2 separate regions of the Homo sapiens genome follow, and region 1 is linked to region 2. Evidence: promoter capture Hi-C in 16 types of primary human blood cells and fetal thymus (Javierre and others, 2016). All regions are on one chromosome and are shown on one strand. Each heading gives the region's core, a stretch centred on a gene start or on the middle of the fragment in contact. The rest is flanking DNA. Distances are from core to core; before and after follow the strand shown.

Evidence for each region. The method cuts DNA at HindIII sites, captures the fragments that hold promoters and counts their contacts. A CHiCAGO score of 5 or more calls a contact.
Region 1: a contact is called between a fragment that was not itself captured here and the fragment with the promoter of ZNF595 in region 2, in 17 of 17 cell types (M0 macrophages, endothelial precursors, total B cells and 14 more). The highest score is 128.7, in M0 macrophages.

What each region holds. Positions count from the first base shown.
Region 1 is chr4:190,105,495-190,111,262 of GRCh38, forward strand. It overlaps LOC107986338 (a long non-coding RNA gene), which reads right to left. Exons shown (of 3, transcript XR_001741971.3): 2 at 3,355-3,633; 3 at 1-1,863. Among named protein-coding and RNA genes, the nearest start is that of DBET, 44 kb to the left of the region's middle. RefSeq lists an enhancer at 3,005-3,543. The HindIII fragment of the contact is 6,450 bases long and covers 379-5,768 here.
Region 2 is chr4:49,088-54,807 of GRCh38, forward strand. ZNF595 (zinc finger protein 595) reads left to right here and starts at 4,234. Exons shown (of 4, transcript NM_182524.4): 1 at 4,234-4,404. The coding sequence starts at 4,402. It also overlaps the pseudogene LOC105374377. RefSeq lists enhancers at 4,095-5,036, 5,037-5,720. The HindIII fragment of the contact is 7,613 bases long and covers 123-5,720 here.

The sequences.
Region 1 (5,768 bases), core at 2,354-4,853, about 190 Mb after region 2:
GCTTTCCATCTCATGATGACCTTGACAGTACTGAGGAGGATTGGTCAGGAATTTTGTAGAATGTCCCCCATTTTCACTTCATGTTCTCAAGGTAAACTGTCATTTTTGATGTTCACTTGGATCATTTGGCAGAGCTACTGTTTGTCAGGTTTCTCCACTGTGAAGTTATTTTTCCTCCTTGTCCATACTGCATGTGTTCTTTTGGAGCAAGTCACTATGCAGAGCCCACACTCATGGAGTGAGGAGTTGGCTCCACCTTCCTGATGGCTGAGTGTCTACATCAATTATTTGGAATTCTTTTGCAAAGGAGATTTCTATGCAACTCCATTAGCTTATTCACCTATGTATACAAATACAGACACCTAGATAATTACTTTAAGCTTCAGTTATTATTCAACACTGCAGCATTGTGTTGCACAATTCATTCCTGTGTTGGCCTTCGGTAGCTGTTATTATTGGCTCTTATTTTTCTTTGATATATTTTAATTTTTTTTAGTACTTACTTTCTGATACTTCAAGATTATCCTGGCTCCTATATTTACTGTCCCAGTTCTAGTATCAGACATTTCTTCAAAGAGCCTGATTCCTTTCAGAATGGTAGGAAAACTTACATCTGGCTGTTGAATTAGCACATTGTATCTTGTCCCTCATTAGCAATGCTAGGAAGTATATGTGTGTGTCTAACCTACCTATACACACCTGATTATAAAGTTTTCTATGTAGAACTGTGTGTATCTATATTAAACTAAACATAAGTTTATGTTTGAAGGGGTGGCCTGGCCCTCCACATCTGTGGGTATATCTCATCAGGTGGGATGAGAGACTGAGAAAAGAAATAAGATACAAGACAAACTATAGAGAAAGAATAGTGGGCCCAGGGGACCTGCACTCAGCATACCAAGGACCTGCACCAGCACCGGTCTCTGAGTTCCCTCAGTTTTTATTGATTATTATTTTCATTATCTCAGCAAGAGGAATGCAGTAGGAGAGCAGGGTGATAATAAGGAGAAGGTCAGCAAAAAAACACGTGAGCAAAAGAATCTATATCATAATTAAGTTCAAGGGGAGGTACTATGCCTGGATGTACACGTGGGCCAGATTTATGTTTCTTCCCACCCAAACATCTCAGTGGAGTAAAGAATAACGAGGCAGCATTGCTGCCAACATGTCTCGCCTCCCACCATAGGGCAGTTTTCCTCCTATCTCAGAATTGAACATATGTACAATCGGGTTTTATACCGAGACATTAAGTTCCCAGGGGCAGGCAGGAAACAGTGGCCTTCCTCTATCTCAACTGCAAGTGGCTTTCCTCTTTTACTAATCCACCTCAGCACAGACCCTTTACAGGTGTCAGGCTGGGGGACAGTCCGGTCTTTCTCATCCCATGTGGCCACATTTCAGACTATCACATGGGGACAAACCTTGGACAATACCCGGCTTTCCAGGGCAGAGGTCCCTGTGGCTTTTTGCAGTGCATTGTGCCCCTGGTTTATTGAGACTAGAGAATGGCAATGAGTTTTACCAAGCATACTGCTTGTAAATATTTTGTTAGCAAGGCACATCCTGCCCAGCCCTAGATCTCTTAAACCTTGATTCCATATAACACATGTTTTTGTGAGCTCAAAGTTGGGGCAAAGTGGCTGGGGCAAAGTTACAAATTAACAGCATCTCAGCAAAACAATTTTTCAAGGTACAGATCAAAATGGAATTTCTTATGTCTTCCCTTTCTACATAGACACAGTAACAGTCTGATCTCTCTTTTCCCTACATATCCCCCTTTTCTTTTTGACAAAACTGCCATGGTCATCATGGTCCATTCTCACTGGTCACTGTCTCTCCAGAGCTGCTGGATACACCTGTAGACTAACAACAGAGAGAACGGACATACAAGGATTAATACAAAAATTTCAATGGTGGAACTTCCAATGTTTTCAACCCAAGTGGCAGGGTTAAGATTTGTGAGGCTATCAACAGCTTTCATGATTGCCTCAGTTTCTGGTACCAGATTTAACTGGGCTTTTGATGCCTCAAAAATTTGTTCTTTTAATTTTGAAATCTCTAAGGTAAGATTATCTTCTCTTCCTTGTAGATGGCATCTCACCATGTCCTAGTGATGTTCAGATTCATTATAAGCTCGAGGTGTAATACAAAAATCTGATGTATTCCAGTCACACTGTAACTGAAAAAGGTATTCCAAGCTCATGAGCCTATCTCCAATCCAAATTACAGTTTGTCTAAGATCATTAATTTGGTTTGCCAATTTTTGATCTATTTGGGTATGAGAATTCCACAATTTTGAGGAATTCTTTTGCCAATTATTCACATATTCTGCAGTTTGAACAGAGGAGTGTAAAGCAATTCCAGCAGCCGCAGCAGTAGCTGTGATAAGACCCATAATCACTGCAATCAAAGTAAAAATGAATCTTTTGGATCTAGTTAGAACTCCTTTTAATACTTCTGTTAAAATATGGATGGATGGGGAACCCTCCCACTGTTGGTCCATGGACACAGGGATCCCCACGCCCTCTCTTGCCCTCACTAGCAGAATACAGTGTTGCCAATCCAAAGTTGAATCAATGCAAGTAAACAATCTACAATTTTCACAGGTTATAGTTTGGGAATCTGGTTTAATAACTCTGTTTCCTACAACTAGCATATAAGGGGGTTTTACACACCCCATTTCCATGGATAGAGTGATTCTAACCTACTATAAACCTGGTCCAGCCTTTCATAGGCCAGATTAATGGGCCAGATGGATGGGACCTGTCAACATGGTTGAGTCTGGCCTGCACAACTATGATATAATTGGCCTCAAGGAGCCCAGTTTATAATAGTTCCAAATTCATTGTTTTGTAGTACCACTGCAGTATCAGCCACACATTCTTCCCAAACTAGGACTTCTGGGCTTTTTGATTCTTTGGGAATTTCCTTGGGGCAAGGCTTCCCCTTAGGCCTAGATTGTAATGATCTTTGATAAGAAAAATCCTGTAAATTATTTATCTGTGGCCTGAGTGACATTCCACTTACCATGTGATAAGTAAATCTGCTGATGGCACTGACAGTAGGTACTTCTACCAACCAATTTTGGGTTGTAGGTATTAAGCATCCTGGTGCTTTCCCCAGGCAAATAGGAGGATAATGATACCCAATGGAAATGTTTATCATCATTCCTTCTTCTTCAGGTTGGGCAGGGCCACGGTCATCTGTGGGGCCTGGTACCCATGCACTATTATTAACATATACTTCAATAGGATTATCTATCCAAGTGACTGTCCGAATTAAGGGTGGGAAAGGCACATAGGCCAAGTAAGTATAATTAGCTGCAGCTGCTCCTGCAGACATAGGGAGACTTACCACCGTTGGTACAATCATTAAAGCTGCAAGCAGCATATTCTCTGGAGTTTGTGTTAACCTTGTATTCTTCAGGCTTTTTTTCAGCTAACTGTGTCAGCTTCTTTAGCTGGGCCCAGGTCAGCAGCTCCACTTTCTTGGTGGATGGCAACTTCATCTGTTCTTCTGATATCACCATTTTGTTCACCTGGCGAGTCGATGGTGCTCCATTGCGGGTTTTCCATCTCCACGGAGGCACTTTTCTTTGCATCTCTGATGGGTTCATTGTAGAATTTCAAATGTCTAGTGGGTATCCAAACAGGAAGCTGATTTTCTCCTGGTGAAACACAAGCAAAACCTCTCCCACATGTTATCACCTTACCTATTTCTCATGTCTTATTTTTGATCTTTCCACCAAATCAGTTTTCCCTCATGTGGGCTGTTCTTTTTACCAGTAAAATGTTGTTCTGCAGAAGTAGTGGTCTTATTTCTATAAATGTTTAAAAAAATTAAAGTATAGAGTGCTAGATTAAGTTGCATCTGGGGAGTGTTATACTCCTTACTCTCTTTTTCCTTTTTTGTTTAACAAATTGAGCTTTGAGTGTCCTATTATTTCTTTCAATTATGGCCTGTCCTTGGGAATTATAAGGGATTCCTGTTGTATGTGTAATTTTCCACTGATTTAAGAATTTTTGGAATGCTTTACTATAGTAGCCTGGTCCATTATCTGTTTTAATTTTTTCTGGAACTCCCATGACAGCAAAACAAGATAATAAATGTCTTTTAACATGGGAAGTACATTTTCTGTCTAGCAGGTTGCCCATATGAAATGTGAACAAGTATCAACCATCACATGGACAAATGACAATTTTCCAAATGAAGGTACATGTGTGACATCCATTTGCCATAATGCATTAGGACATAAACCTCTGGGATTAAGTCCTGCCTCCTGAGTGGGCAGGTGTAGGACTTGACACTCAGTACAATGTTGTACAATATTTTTTGCCTGTTTCCATGTGATATCAAATTTATTTTTTAATCCTGTTGCATTTACATGAGTCAGAGCATGACGTTCTTGTGCTTCCATGAAGGCAGATGATACTAGCAAGTCAGCTTGTTCATTTCCCTTAGTTAAGGCCCTGGTAAATTAGTATGTGCTTGAATATGAGTAATATAAAATGGGAAATTTCTTTTTCTTACAGTTTATTGTAAAAAATTAAACAGCTGATTCAACTGATCATCCATACTACATTTGATTAGGGCTGTCTCAACATCCTTTGTAGCCTGTACTACATATGCAGAATCTGAAACAATGTTAATAGGCTGATTAAAATCTTGTAACACTGAAATAACAGCAACCAATTCTGCTCTTTGAGCTGAGTGATATTGAGTTTCAATGATTCATTCTTTTGGCCTGGGGTAAGCCATTTTTCCATTGCTGGAACCATCAGTAAACACCATCAGAGCATTTTCTAAAGGTTTATGTCTGGTAATTTTAGGTAAAATCCAAGTAGTCAATTTTGAAAACTGGAAGATTTTTGTTCTTGGGTAATGATGATCAACAATTCCCACAAAAGCAGCAAGACCAATCTGCCATGCAGCAGAATTGATAAAGGCTTGTCTAACCTGTTCCTTGTTTAAAGGAACAATGATTTTATCTGGGTCACTTCCACACAATTTTACTATTCGTAGTCTTCCCTGACCAATTAATGTAGCCATTTGATCTAAGTACAATGTAAAAGTCTTAATTGTACTGTGAGGAAAGAATGACCACTCCACAAGATCTGTATTTTGAACAATAATGCCTGTTGGAGAATGTACAGTAGCAAAAATCAAAAGTTGGAGTGGGGCTAAGTGATCTATTCTATTTACTTGTGCTGACGGAATTTTTTCTTCAACTAATTCAATTTCCTTAGCTGCCTCTGGAGTTAATGTTCTTTTACTATTCAAGTCTGGATACCCTCTCAAGATAGAGAACAAATTCGACATGGCATAAGTAGGGATGCCTAGAGTTGGCCGAATCCAATTAATATCTCCTAGCAATTTTTGAAAGTCATTTAATGTTCTTAATGTGTCTTTTCTTATTTCTATTTGTTGTGGTTTAATTTTTCTTTCCTCTACTTGCATTCCCAAATAATGAAAAGGAGTAGAGGTCTGAATCTGCGTTTGCAACCTCTGCAGAAATGTGTAACAGTCAATTAATTTGCCTCTTGTTTCTGCAGCACACAAAATATCAACATAATGAATGACATAACAGTCTGAAAACTTGTCTCTAACTGGTTGAAGAACTTGAGCTACAAAAGTCTGACAAATAATTGGACTATTAAGCATTCCCTGAGGCAACACTTTCCACTGAAATCTGGTGGCTGGTTCTTTATTATTTATGGCTGGTATAGTAAAAGCAAATTTTTCAAAATCCTGTTTTGCCAGAGAAATGG
Region 2 (5,720 bases), core at 2,984-5,483:
ATTATAACTTTAAGTTTATATAACTTTATTATAAGTATTAATTTGTTTGAATTAAGTTTATATAACTTTAATATAAGCATTAATTTGTTTGAAATATAAAGTATTATAAAATATTGTAATTAAGCTTACAGATAATTTTTAAAATATATACATTATGACTAATATACCAAAATTATTTATATGTACACATTTATATTTAATACCCAAAGAAAATTTACTACCACATTGCTACAGTAGATATTAACCTGACATGTTTATTAATTGATCCTATAGGTATAATTATAGGTCAGCATAATTTTACAGTCTATTCTTTTATTTTACTAAATTAGGAATGCCACTATTCCCGGACAAATAAATGCAGGTGATGTGGCCACCCAAGAATCATAGTAGCTCTTCAGTTAGCTATCTTGCAATCTCTGATATAATTCTACTATGTGAATAGAGTGAATTCCAATTCTTCATCAAAAAGTGCTGGTGGAGGTTGTCAGGTGTGTTCCAGTATAGATTCCCAATCCAACGGCCGGCAGATGGGAGAGCAGCAGAGATGGAAATTCTGCTCAGAATAAGCCCTCTTTCTCATAATACTTGTATTTCTCATGCTGAGAGTAGCTGTGCACTTTTGGTGTTTAGAGAAGAACTTCTTTGGAAGAATATTTTCTGGTCAATTTGACCAATGTTACATGTAATCTGAATTTGTCTTTAAGATTCTTTCAACCTCTTTTCTTCTCTCAATACGGTTTTACTCAGACTGAGAGCTGTCTTTCTCTTCAATGCTTTGGGAATTCAGTGCTTTGTGTCTAAGCCCTATTAATATCACATGGTGTCTGTGAGTGAGGGGGGCTGTCACCGTGAGAACTCCTGGAGCTGCTCTATCTAGATCCATGCTATGTATCCAGCAATATTCTTTTTGTGTCAGTATTATAAATAGAAACTGAGGCTGAAACATTGCTCCCGTTTCCCTTATTGCAAAAGTGCAATTCTACCCAAGAGCCCTGCAGGCTCTCCTCCTGCAGCTCAGGGACCCCGCTCTGTAATGTAAAATGTGGGGACCCCACTCTCTAATGTAAAATGTGAGCTGCCAGCTGTGGGCTGTGCCTCAGTGGTAGATGGCAGGGTTTGGGAGAGGACACAGGCCACCAGGAGAGGGCAAGCAGAATTGCTGCAGCCCAGGGCTTAGTGAGTAGGGATCCATTGCTTTGAAATATAAATAGCCGGCCGGGCGCGGTGGCTCATGCCTGTAATCCCAGCACTTTGGGAGGCCAAGGCGGGCAGATCACAAGGTCAGGAGATCGAGACCATCCTGGCTAACACAGTGAAATCCCGTCTCTACTAAAAATACAAAAAAATTAGCCAGGTGTGGTGGCGGGCACCTGTAGTCCCAGCTACTGGGGAGGCTGAGTCAGGAGAATGGCGTGAACCCGGGAGGCAGAGCTTGCAGTAAGCCAAGATCGCACCACTGCACTCCAGCCTGGGCGACAGAGCAAGACTCTGTCTCAAAAAAAGAAAAAAAAAGAAATATAAATAGCCAAGATGATAGTACCCTATCTCACTCTTTCTGTACGAGATGGAGGGTGACTTAGAGCCACTTAGAGCCACTTACAGCTGAAGGTAAGGTAGGCTTACCTGCAACAGGCACCTGGCTCTAAGTTGCAAAACTGCCTCCTATCATGATGTTGGAAGTTTATTTTTTCTTTGCATATAACCAACCAGCATACACAGAAGGCCTCCCCAATTACCAGGTGAGTTTAAGATGAACTATGTATAACAAATGGTTTGTACAGAAGGGAGGCAGGAGAATGGGGTATGGAGGCAGAGAACTTAAGGCCAATTTGTGCTGACTTCCTAAAAGAAAAAACACCAAGGTCTGGAGGCAGGAAACCTAAGGCCAATTAAGGCAAACTTCCAACAGCTAAACCAAAAGAAAAAGTCCCATCTCCCCACACCTGAATAGCAAAGGATCAAAGGCTACTGTCCCTACAACCCTCCCCTTTCTACCACTTCTCAGGTAGAAAGGGAAAGTGCCTTGGAGTGGCTGCAGGCCAAGCACCTGCATTCCTTCATCCGCATAGCGTGCCAATTCTCCTAAGCCTTTAATTAGCCACAGACCAAATCCTTAATCCATATCAGTGGTAGCTGATAGGGACCTCAAAAGGAGTACTAAAAACCCAGAAAACTTCGTAACTGGGTCCTTGAGCCACTTGCTCAAGCCCATACCCACCCTATTTCTTACCTTAATAAATTTCCGCTTTTGATGCTTCCTCCCTCTGTTTTGTTCCTTTGTTACTTTGTGCATTTTGTTCAATTCTTTGTTGCCAAGGACCTGGACAACTCACACTCACGGCCTTCGTTCTGGGAACAGAAGTGCAGTTAGATGTGGATGCATGTGATTGGTGCTTAAACTCACAGTGCCCCACACCAAAGGAGAAAAACACATAGTTACAGCCTGTGTGTCCAAATTAGGTCCAGATTAGGTCCAAGGACAAATAGCAAAACAAGAAGATTGCCTTTAATCTTTTCCCTCCACTTCTAAACTCTGGAGGACAAGGCTGTGAAGAGATCTGAAGACATGGTGTTCTCTGCTTGTGTGGCCCCAACATTCTTTGTTTGCTGTCTGATATTTGAAAGGAAGAGGAACCTTTGATAGAGGAGGCAGTCGGACGCTGGTTAGGCAGATAGAGAGAGGGCCTGGGGAGAGGAAAAACACGTGTGGGACCGCACCTGCACCACCTCTGTAGCTAGCAGGAAGAAATGTGGTTAAGAACTTCCTCTTATGCCAGGATGTTGCTCCAAAGGGACTGTCCCAACTTAGCACAGGCGCAATAAATCAACCCAAATGTCCTTAACTTGACCCAGCTCATTATAAGGTCATTAACATGACATTAGCATTGTGGTTTTGGCTCTCCTCGTGTAAGTTTCGCTTAGGCACTCATGGGTAATAACCAAAATGGAGTCACTGTGGCCAATCCCAGGCATGCGCAGATGCAACACCCTTAGTGAGGAACTTTACCCCTCCCATTTGGGCAGAACCCACAGAAGACATACTTGTTCTTGCCACATAAAAGACCCAGACCTCAGCCTCATTTCTGGCAACCTGCTTTCAGGTCCCCTCTTGCTTCTGAGAGCTTTCCTTTTGCTTAATAAATCCTACTCTGCCTTGCTCACTCTCTGGTATCCGTGTGCTTCATTCTTTTTGGTCGTGGCACAAGAGTCCCGACCTGGCTGAACCGAGGAGACCACCACACCTCCACCAAACAGCAACTGGGAAACCGTGGTCTTCACGTGGATACTCTCAGCTTGCAGCCCCTGCTCTCTCTAGGGGCACTGTCCCACCCACCCTTGAGCCTGAGGAGAAAAGTTGGTAGAGAGGCTGGTCCCTTACTTCCAGCAGAAAAGAGGTGTTCAGGCCCTCACTTCCCTAAGGGAAGAGAGCCCTCATGGCTGCGCTCAATGTGGCAGCCACCTGCCATATGTAGCTACTGGGTACCTGGAATGTGACTGGTTTGAAGTAAAATGTGCTGCAAACATAAAATACACAGTGAGTTTAGAAGAATTAGATCAGAAATACATAAAATACACAGTGAGTTTAGAAGAATTAGATCAGAAATATACTTTATTTCTAATTATATATCAATCACATATTAAAACAATATTTTGATACAATGAGTTAAAAATTATTACAAACAACTTCACTCTTTAAATATTATTTTTGACGTGGCTAATAAAAACGCAAAATTCACAAATTAATATTTTATTTTTTAAAGGATTGCTTCCCTCTTAAAATCTCAGGTGTCCTACTCAAAAGACTAGCGGCCAGAAGGGTTATGAAATCTAAAATATTAAAATAATTGTCATTATATCACTTCCGTTTGTGAAAAAGTGTGTGTGCATGCATGTGTGCATGCGTGTGTGTGCGCGCGTGTGTGTGCGCGCGTGTGTGCACGTCTGTGTGTAAGTGTATTTTACAAGTGGACATAACCTTACACACAACAAGGTTAAAAAAAACACCCCTGGGCTGCGTCAGGCCAAGCCGGGAGAGAAAGCCCCGCCTGAAAGGGCCTGGAGGCCCCAGCCTGTCACTCTTGCCACATCAGTGGAGTGTATGGTTGCAAATTCTGTTACTCAAGGCCCGAGGGCGGGGATTGGAGTAATATCCAATCAGAGTGTCGGAATGAGAACTGCCCAATCAGGCCCGCAGCCAGAGAGGAGGGGTTGGCTTCCGGGATCTGGCGCGGCGTTTTCCTCTGGCTCCTGCGAGGGCTTGGTTTAGGGCTTCAGCTCTCTGCGTTCTCGGCTCCGGGAGGCCTCGGTGATTCAGCCACAGCCTCTGCCTCCCGTTGCTCTGTGACCTGAGGGTATTGGACAATTTGTAGCTAAGACTCCCGGATACCCTGAAGTCGGGAAATGGTGAGTGTGCGGGGCAGGGCGTCCGGAGGCTGGGGAGGCCTCATCGGAACCGGCGGGAAATGGCGGCGGCGGGACCGAGTCTGCGAACGGAGTCCCCGCTGCCGCCTCTCAGCCCTCAGTCCCCTCCGGTGACGGACCGGGCTCCTGTCGGTCCCCGCACGGCGGCTCTGGCCCAGCCTGCGGCCCTCCTTGTGCAGTTCTGCGCCCGCAGCCCCGCACCTTCCCTGGGCCGCGGGGTGAGGAGGAGCTCATCTGGAAGACGCCGGCGCCCGCGTGCGAGGTGCCCGCCTGGGAGGAGCTGTGGTCCGGGGGTCCGGTCCCTACTTTACCCTGTTCGGAATGAGATCGAGGCCCCATCGAAACAAAGTTCATGTGAGCAAACGGGGTCTCATTAATGGGACAGCGTCGGCCGCGGCTCCTGGTTTGGGGACTGCCAGCGGGTCTTGAAGGAAAGGCTTTTGTGAGGTGTGTGAGCAAGCGAAGCAAATCACCCGCCCGCTCCAACTATTCCACCAGTCCCTTTGCCCTGTGCACCTCCTCCGCGTGGCTGTTCCTGAGTAACATCTTTTAGAATACGCTGGTGTCGGTGCGCACGGCGCTTCTCAGTTCTGTGAGTAGTTCTGCCACATTGCTGAACTTGAGGGTGTGGGCGCCCCTGGTTTGTAGACAGGCGTTCAGAAATGAAGACGGGTGTCCAGAGGCAGGGACTGGCGTCTGCAGCGGGAGCAGTTGTGGGAAGAGCGCTGAGCTTGTGGGGTCTGCGCTGACTCTGGGTGGTGTCGTTAGTGAGTTGCTGGACACCGCGTTGGGGTTGGAGCATTGACTGGTGTTGAGGAAACTCCGCACGTTTTCTGTCAGAAGAAAGACATGGCTGAGCCTGGGCTGGAGAAAGATGCCTGGTGTCTGCGGGAGGCGCGGCCGGGTTCTGCATATGTGCTGTCCCGCTGGGCACTGTCCTTTTCCTCCAGGTCTCCTTCCGGGGAGAGAGGGGACCCAGAACAAAGAGGAAAGGAGTTCTGAGAAACATCCCTTCCCTGCACCCTGCTGCCAGCCCCCACCCAATGCTAGTCCACTCCTGAGCACGCCCACCGGGCATTCGCATTGCCCCACTCTTCCCAGTACAGGATTCCACCTCAGGAATTGTGCCCATGGCAGCTTTGCGCCTAGCGTTTTCTGCCAAAAACACACGCAGTGCCCAGAAGTCTCCTGGCTCATCTCAACCGCAGACCGGATCTACAGCAGGAACCTGCTTCCTTCACCCACCCAGGCTTCCGGACCACCTGATCCTAATCCCTTCTGTCTTTGTAGACATGGAA